2 separate regions of the Homo sapiens genome follow, and region 1 is linked to region 2. The links are contacts of gene promoters, found by promoter capture Hi-C in blood cells and fetal thymus (Javierre and others, 2016). All regions are on one chromosome and are shown on one strand. The core of a region is centred on a gene start or on the middle of the fragment in contact, and the rest is flanking DNA. Distances in the headings are between cores, read along the strand shown. Region 1 overlaps SCAF11 (SR-related CTD associated factor 11). Region 2 holds the start of HDAC7 (histone deacetylase 7).

What was found. Contacts are between HindIII fragments. The CHiCAGO score rates a contact against its expected background, and 5 or more counts as called.
Region 1: a contact is called between a fragment that was not itself captured here and the fragment with the promoter of HDAC7 in region 2, in 1 of 17 cell types (neutrophils). The highest score is 5.6, in neutrophils.

What each region holds. Positions count from the first base shown.
Region 1 is chr12:45,986,376-45,989,568 of GRCh38, reverse strand. The region is part of intron 1 of SCAF11 (SR-related CTD associated factor 11); the gene reads left to right. Among named protein-coding and RNA genes, the nearest start is that of SCAF11, 2.6 kb to the left of the region's middle. RefSeq lists a silencer at 2,817-2,866. The HindIII fragment of the contact is 7,512 bases long and covers 1-3,193 here.
Region 2 is chr12:47,818,120-47,821,264 of GRCh38, reverse strand. HDAC7 (histone deacetylase 7) reads left to right here and starts at 1,362. Exons shown (of 26, transcript NM_015401.5): 1 at 1,362-1,498. The coding sequence starts at 1,480. RefSeq lists enhancers at 1-521, 1,860-2,433 and silencers at 1,072-1,411, 1,552-1,631, 1,642-1,951. The HindIII fragment of the contact is 23,145 bases long and covers 1-3,145 here.

The DNA.
Region 1 (3,193 bases), core at 320-2,819, 1.8 Mb after region 2:
TTGAAGTATTGTTTCAAAAGTAGACGCCTGATTTAGAGTACTTGATTTAGACATTCACGGATTCAAATGTTGAATTTTGAAATACTTCCAATATATTTCCGTATTGTATTACATACAGTGTCTACCAGCTGACTGTTGTTCATTCATTTTGGATTACATTTTGGCTAACATGCTACCACTGACCTAAGATACTTAAGCAAAACTGCTGAAAAATGTTTTTAATGCTTTGTGTAGTAGATGCTGATGTTAAATTTTTTTCTCCGATTTGGGAATTTTCCCCGAATTTTGGGAAAAGCATATTAATAAATGCATTATTTTTTCGTTTTAAAAGAAAAATTAATTTCTACATATCACCACCTACCTCAGCAGCAGAATATCAGGGCAGTACATTTTAAAATAACGGTTGGTTTTTGTATTTTATTAGTAATTGTATTAAAATTTTGACATGTAATCAAGTCTGTTTCTAAACAATTGCTTTCTCTTTCCTGTTTCTTTGGCAGTTGGCTTGATCATGTCACTATTTTGGTTAAAAGATGCAAGAAAAAGTTCATGGGCCTTTTGTTTTTGTTGTTTTAACTAAGCAAGAGAAATGAAATCTTGAAACTGTCTTTGGATTTCTTTTGTTTTATATTATCCTATCGGATAATCTGAATTTATATTTTTTATGCAATGTGAGTTTTTTAAAAACAGTTCTTAGGGTAGCTGCATTTTAGCTATAATATTTTTTGGTGCTTGCAGATATTTTAACAGTCATTCAGTTTTTCACATTCAGATAGTGAACTTTTTGCCTGAGAGTTTGAGTACATTTTAAGATTTCACTGGGGTAAAATTTGAATGTTTGCTTACTGTAAGTATACTCATGCTTTAAAGACATTCTTCAGTATAAAGGGGAAGAAAACTGTAGAAGAAAATTTAAAGTTTCTAAATATGTTGCCAGAAAACATGTCATGGAGAAAATTTTACGGATAATTTTTTAATTTTTTCTGTTAATACCTTCATGTGGTAATAGGGCTAGTGTGTTAAGATCGAAACTTTTCAGGAGTTACTTAGCTCTCTATCGTCCTTTGGCACCAACTAGAGCTTAGACAGTTTTCTGGAAAACCTGTGCTTTTATTCAGCAGAGATAGGATGAATCAGTGCAGTTACATGATACTGTTGATTCATCATCAGTAACATCTTTTAGTAATCAGAAAATACAGTACTATACTACCCATCAACTTAATACTGAACTTTTAAAGTATATCAGAGATAGTTGTAGCACCTTAATTAAAGAGAGTAGCAGGCATAAAAGTAATAAAAAGAAAGTCAACTGTAGAATAATTTTCATTGTAACTTCCCTTTAGCAAGCCCTGCTATCACCTGCTTTTGTCTTTTAAGATGTAAATTGTACCTTGACTTACCTTGCCCAGTGAAATAAACTTAAAATCCAGATTTTTAATTATACTCTGTCCCCCAAAATAAGTTAATAACCTTGCACCTTGTCTTGCTTCTGAGCAGTAATAACTGTTAGTAGTGCTGAGTAGAGCCCAGAGTTAAAATATCCAGTATCATTCTCTTGCTATTCCCAAAACTCATCTTTGCATTGTATTTTTTTAAGTTGTGTCTATGAACTTAATGTATGAAATCCTAGTACATAGACACATAAAAATTCAATACATAACGTAAAAACACAACCACTATTTTGCTTTCAAAAATATCTTCCTAAAAAGTCACTGTGACCTTTGCTGATCTACAGTCTTTAACACTCCATAGCCAGAGTGATCCTGATAAAATGTCAGGTCATGTAACTTCTTTTCTCAAATGGCTTCCCTTCTCAGTCATAGTAAATTCCATACTCCTATGGTCTACAAGGCTCTATGATTTAAGTCTCTTCTTCCTCTCTGACTTCATCTCCTCACCCTTTCTCCAATCTCCTTTCCCCTACGCTGTTGTGGTCTTCTCTAACTACTGTGTATAAAACAACAGCCTTCCCCCGATATTTTGTATCTGTTTTTATGCTAGATTTTTCTCCATTGCATTTATCATTTTGCAACATATTGTGTAATCTAACTTAGGTTTATTGTTTATTTTCTTCACTGTGATTTATCTTCTGTGAGATCAGCATTTGTCAGTATTTGTCACCTAAACACCTGAACAATGCCTTCAGTGTAAGTTAATGAATTAACCTGCTTTCAGCTGTAAACGTTACAAATAGTGATTGTGGTTTGAAACTTTAGACTAAGCAAGTCTCAGTCTGTAGCATAAACTGCCAAGTTACTTATATCCATGCATGTGGGCCATGTTCATTTCAGGGGTCCTTGTTTTTTGTTGTTGTTTGTTTTGTTTTTGCTTTCAGATAGCATCTCGCTGTCTCCCAGGCTGGAGCGCAGTGGTGTGATCACAGCTCTCACTTTGGTGCCCAGGCTGGTCTCAAATTCCTGGGCTAAGTAATCATCCCGCCTTGGCCTCCCAAAGTGCTGGGATTACAGGAATGAACCACCACACCCAGCCTAAGGGGTCTGTGTTTTTAGAGGAGTATAACAGTATGTGACCTTGAAACTATCATTTGTCTTAATATAGAAGGAGCTAAGAATGCCTCAGCTAAGAGTAGAGCAGTGCATTAGCCTGATTTCATGCTGCTGACATACCTGAGACTGGGAAGAAAAAGAGGTATAATTGGACTTACAGTTCCACATGGCTAGGGAGGCCTCAGAATCTTGGTGGGAGGAGAAGGGCACTTCTTACATAGTGGTTGGTGGCAAGAGAAAATGAGGAAGATGCAAAAGCGGAAACATCTGTTAAAACCATCAGATCTTGTGAGACTTGTTCACTACCATGAGAACAGTATGGGGGAAACTGCCCCCATGATTCAAATTATCTCCCAACAGGTTGCTCCCACAACACGTGGGAATTATGGGAATACAATTCAAGAGAGATTTGGGTGGGGACACAGCCAAACCATATCAAGCAGTATAACTATCTTATTGTTAAAAATGTTGTCATTTAGAAGCCATATTAATTTCTTATAGTTCCAGAAGGCAAAACTAGGATTGTGGTGATGTGTATTGAAAGGGAGGAGAGAGGCAGCAAGAGATCTGGGAGAATTAGTTAGCAGGCTTTTTTAGTAGTCTGGGAGAGATGAGGATAGCTTGAATTAGGATGATAATTGTGGAGATGGGCTCAGTGGATGGGATTTGAGACCAGCAGGCCTTAG
Region 2 (3,145 bases), core at 113-2,612:
TGAAGTTCACCGCCAGCATGGCCAAGCCCTCCTAGGCCACTGTGGGCTCTTGCTTCCAATCAGACATGACTCCACCTCTGGGGCTGCCTCAATTTTTCCTTCTCTGGATTCTTGGGGTTTCTTAGGATTGCGGGAGATAGAATGGGGTCAGGGGAAGCTGCTCCTTGGTTTACAATGGTGGCGCCTCACGCTGCAGAGAGCCCAGTGTTCCTGCGTGGTGGACCTCTCCCCTTCCTAGGAGCAGCTCCAGATTGCTGGAGGCAGACACGGCTGACCGGCTAGCCCAGGAAGCACAATGGCGAGGTCCTTAGCCCCTGACCCCTGAATCTGACCTTCTCTCCAGCTAAAAGCGGAGGGAGAGGCAGGGAGGGCCACTGCCTAAAGCCGGCCCTGAGCTGAGTTTATTAGCTGAGGGAGGGCTGGAGGCGGCTGCATTCCGACTCACAGACTGGAACATTTCTGTGATCCGCTGTAATGCACTGGGGGACACTGGGCACATTGCTGAAGTTTGACTCATAGGGACCGGGAGGGGGAAAGAGGGGGGTTGTGGAGGGAGAGGAATGGGAGGAAGAGAGGAAGAGGAGAGGAGGGAAGGAAGTCCCTTGAGAAATTTCTTTAAAAAAAGAAAACTTTCAAAATCTGCACCACCCCCACACCCTTTTTCTTTTAATAGGAACAGGCTGGACCCTTCCGTTCCCCTCAGCAGGCATGGTGTGTGTGTGGGGGTGCCAGTGGGGGAGGGCTGGGCAGTGATTCAAATCAGATCCTGGAACTTTCCTGAGGCAAGTCGTGCTTATGTGTGTGTGTGTGTGGTGGGGGGTGTCCGTCTGGGATTCCTTGTATGGGACATGGGACACCACGCGTGTCCCACTGTGCCCGCGTGTGGCTGCGTGCTTGTGGGCTGTACGGGTATGTAGTGTGTGCACGGGGGTCCACCCCGAAGCCCCAGTGTGTGCTGTGTAAATGATTCTGCCCCTTGTAAACATGGATGCGTGCTCGTGTACGTTGTGTATGCGAGGGTGCGTGCGCCCAGGTAGCTGGGTTTCCGGGAATTGTGCACGGCTCGGAGCGCCTCGCGGCGGCTGGGGCTCGGAGCCGCGGCCGGCGTTCCGGGTTCGGCGCTGCCTCCCCGGCAGTGCGCCGCGCCCCGCCGCGATCTGGCCGCGCGCGGTGTCTGCGGCCCGCCTGTGCGCCGCGCGGTGCAGTGTCTGCCGGGGTGGTGTGTCCCAGGGCCGCGAGCGCCTGCCCCCTCCCTCCCCTCCCCCTTGGCCCGCTCTCAGACTCAGATAAAGCATTTCCTTCCATTGTCATCCTACCCGGCCGGCCGGGCTGCCAGGGCCCTCCCCCTCCCGGCCCCCTCCCTTCCTCTCGCCGTCTCACAGTCGCTCTGCAGCCTCCGGCGACTGGGGGGATGTGAGGCCGGCGCCCCAGCCCCCCGCCCCGCCATGAGCCCCCCGCTCTGAGGGCCCCGGCCCCTGGATGCACAGCCCCGGCGCTGGTGAGTACTGGGCGGCCGCCCCCCGCCCCGCCCTGCGCGCGGCACCCAGCGTCGCCCGCCCAGGCTCGGCCTCCGGCCCTGGCCCCGGCTCCGGCTCCGGCTCCGGCTCGGGCTCCCGCCAGCCCCGCGGGCCCAGCCCGGCTTGCGCCCCCCGACCGCGCCTGTCCCGCCCGGCTCCGCGGGGCTCTGGCAGGCTCCGGGTCGGAGCTGGTTCCGGGGGCCGGAGGGCTCGGGCCTCCCGCGGGGCGCCCACATCCGCCCGCCCCGGGGCAGCTACAGGCCCAAGGGAGGGAGTTGGAGGCCCCGGCCGCCGGTGTGCGGGCCCCACGTCCCATCACCCCTGTTCCCGGGGAGGACGAGCCGAGGGACCGGGGAGGGAGGGACGGCCGCGGTGGCCCGGCGAGGGGGCGGTGCTCCGGGGCGGAAGGTTTGGAAGCGCGAGGGCAAAGGGCAGGACCCACTGAGTTGGGGCTGGGCTTTGTGGGGCTGGACATCAGCGCCCCCATCCCGTGGAGCCGGGCAGGGCCCTACTCAGATCCTTCGGCGGGGAAAGAGGTCCCTTGGAGGGGTCTCTGGCTGGGAGGTTTCTCTGAGCATTGCCCCCCATCCTTGCTCACCCATCAGGGTGAAGAGACACCTGTGCCCTGGTGAGCTGTGGAGGTCAATGCCGGCAGCGGCGCGGGAAGCGGGGCGCCGCAGGCTGTGTGAGGGGTGGGGGACAGGATGTGCACCCCCCAGGCCTGGGGTCTGTTGGTGTTGGGGAGTGTGAGAGCAGGCGGCAAATTTGGCGGATGGGCTGGGTTCCCACGACCAGAGTTTCTAGGCCTGTGGGCCAGGAGAGAGCCCTCTGGGGCCCGCAGGCCACCCAGTGCCCCACCCCCATTGCTTCCCGCTGTGGCTGCCCGTTTGGGTCTGACCTCCCCAGCCACGGCTGCTCCTCACTCCTTCTCCCCGCTGGCTGTCTTGCGCACCCAAAGGCCTCCCCCTGCATCTGGACACTGGCTGTCTCGCTGCCAACGCTCCCTGCCCACTCCCCTAGGCAACATCTGCCTGAGGCCCAGCTCTGCCTGCCGCTTTCTAGGGTGAGAATGGGGCATCGGCCCTCAGCGGCCCTGCTGGGAGCTCAAGATCAACTTCTCAGCCTGTTCCCTGGACTTGCATCTGGACCTGTGGGACCTTCCTCAGGACCCCTATTCAGCTATAGGGCTGGCAGGAGACTGTGACTCAGGTCCCTGCCCTCCAATGAGACGCTTTGGCGGCCCTTTCCCCCTCCCAGGACTCCATAGGCTGCTAGGCTGCCGCTACCCATGGGTTATTAAGTCATTTTCTTCTTCTCTGCAGTCATTTCTGAGGGAAACTAAGGCACAGAGTAGTCCCAGTGAGTGGTACCCAGCCCAGTGAACCTAGACTGGAACCAGGTCTTGGACCTATTGGGACTGGTCCTCTGCCTTTAGTCCCCTGATGTCCCTCCTTGCCCAGCAGGGCCAGGCTCAGAGGCAAGCTCAGAGCTGCCTCCTGATGTTGCACCTGGAATGGTCCTGGTGCAGTGTTCTCCAGAGGCCTCTGTGTCCCTTATTCGGCGGGTGTCTCTGTGGCCACCGGGTCTTACAGTGGGTTTTGGGGCAGGGAAGTTTGCATGTCTAAGCT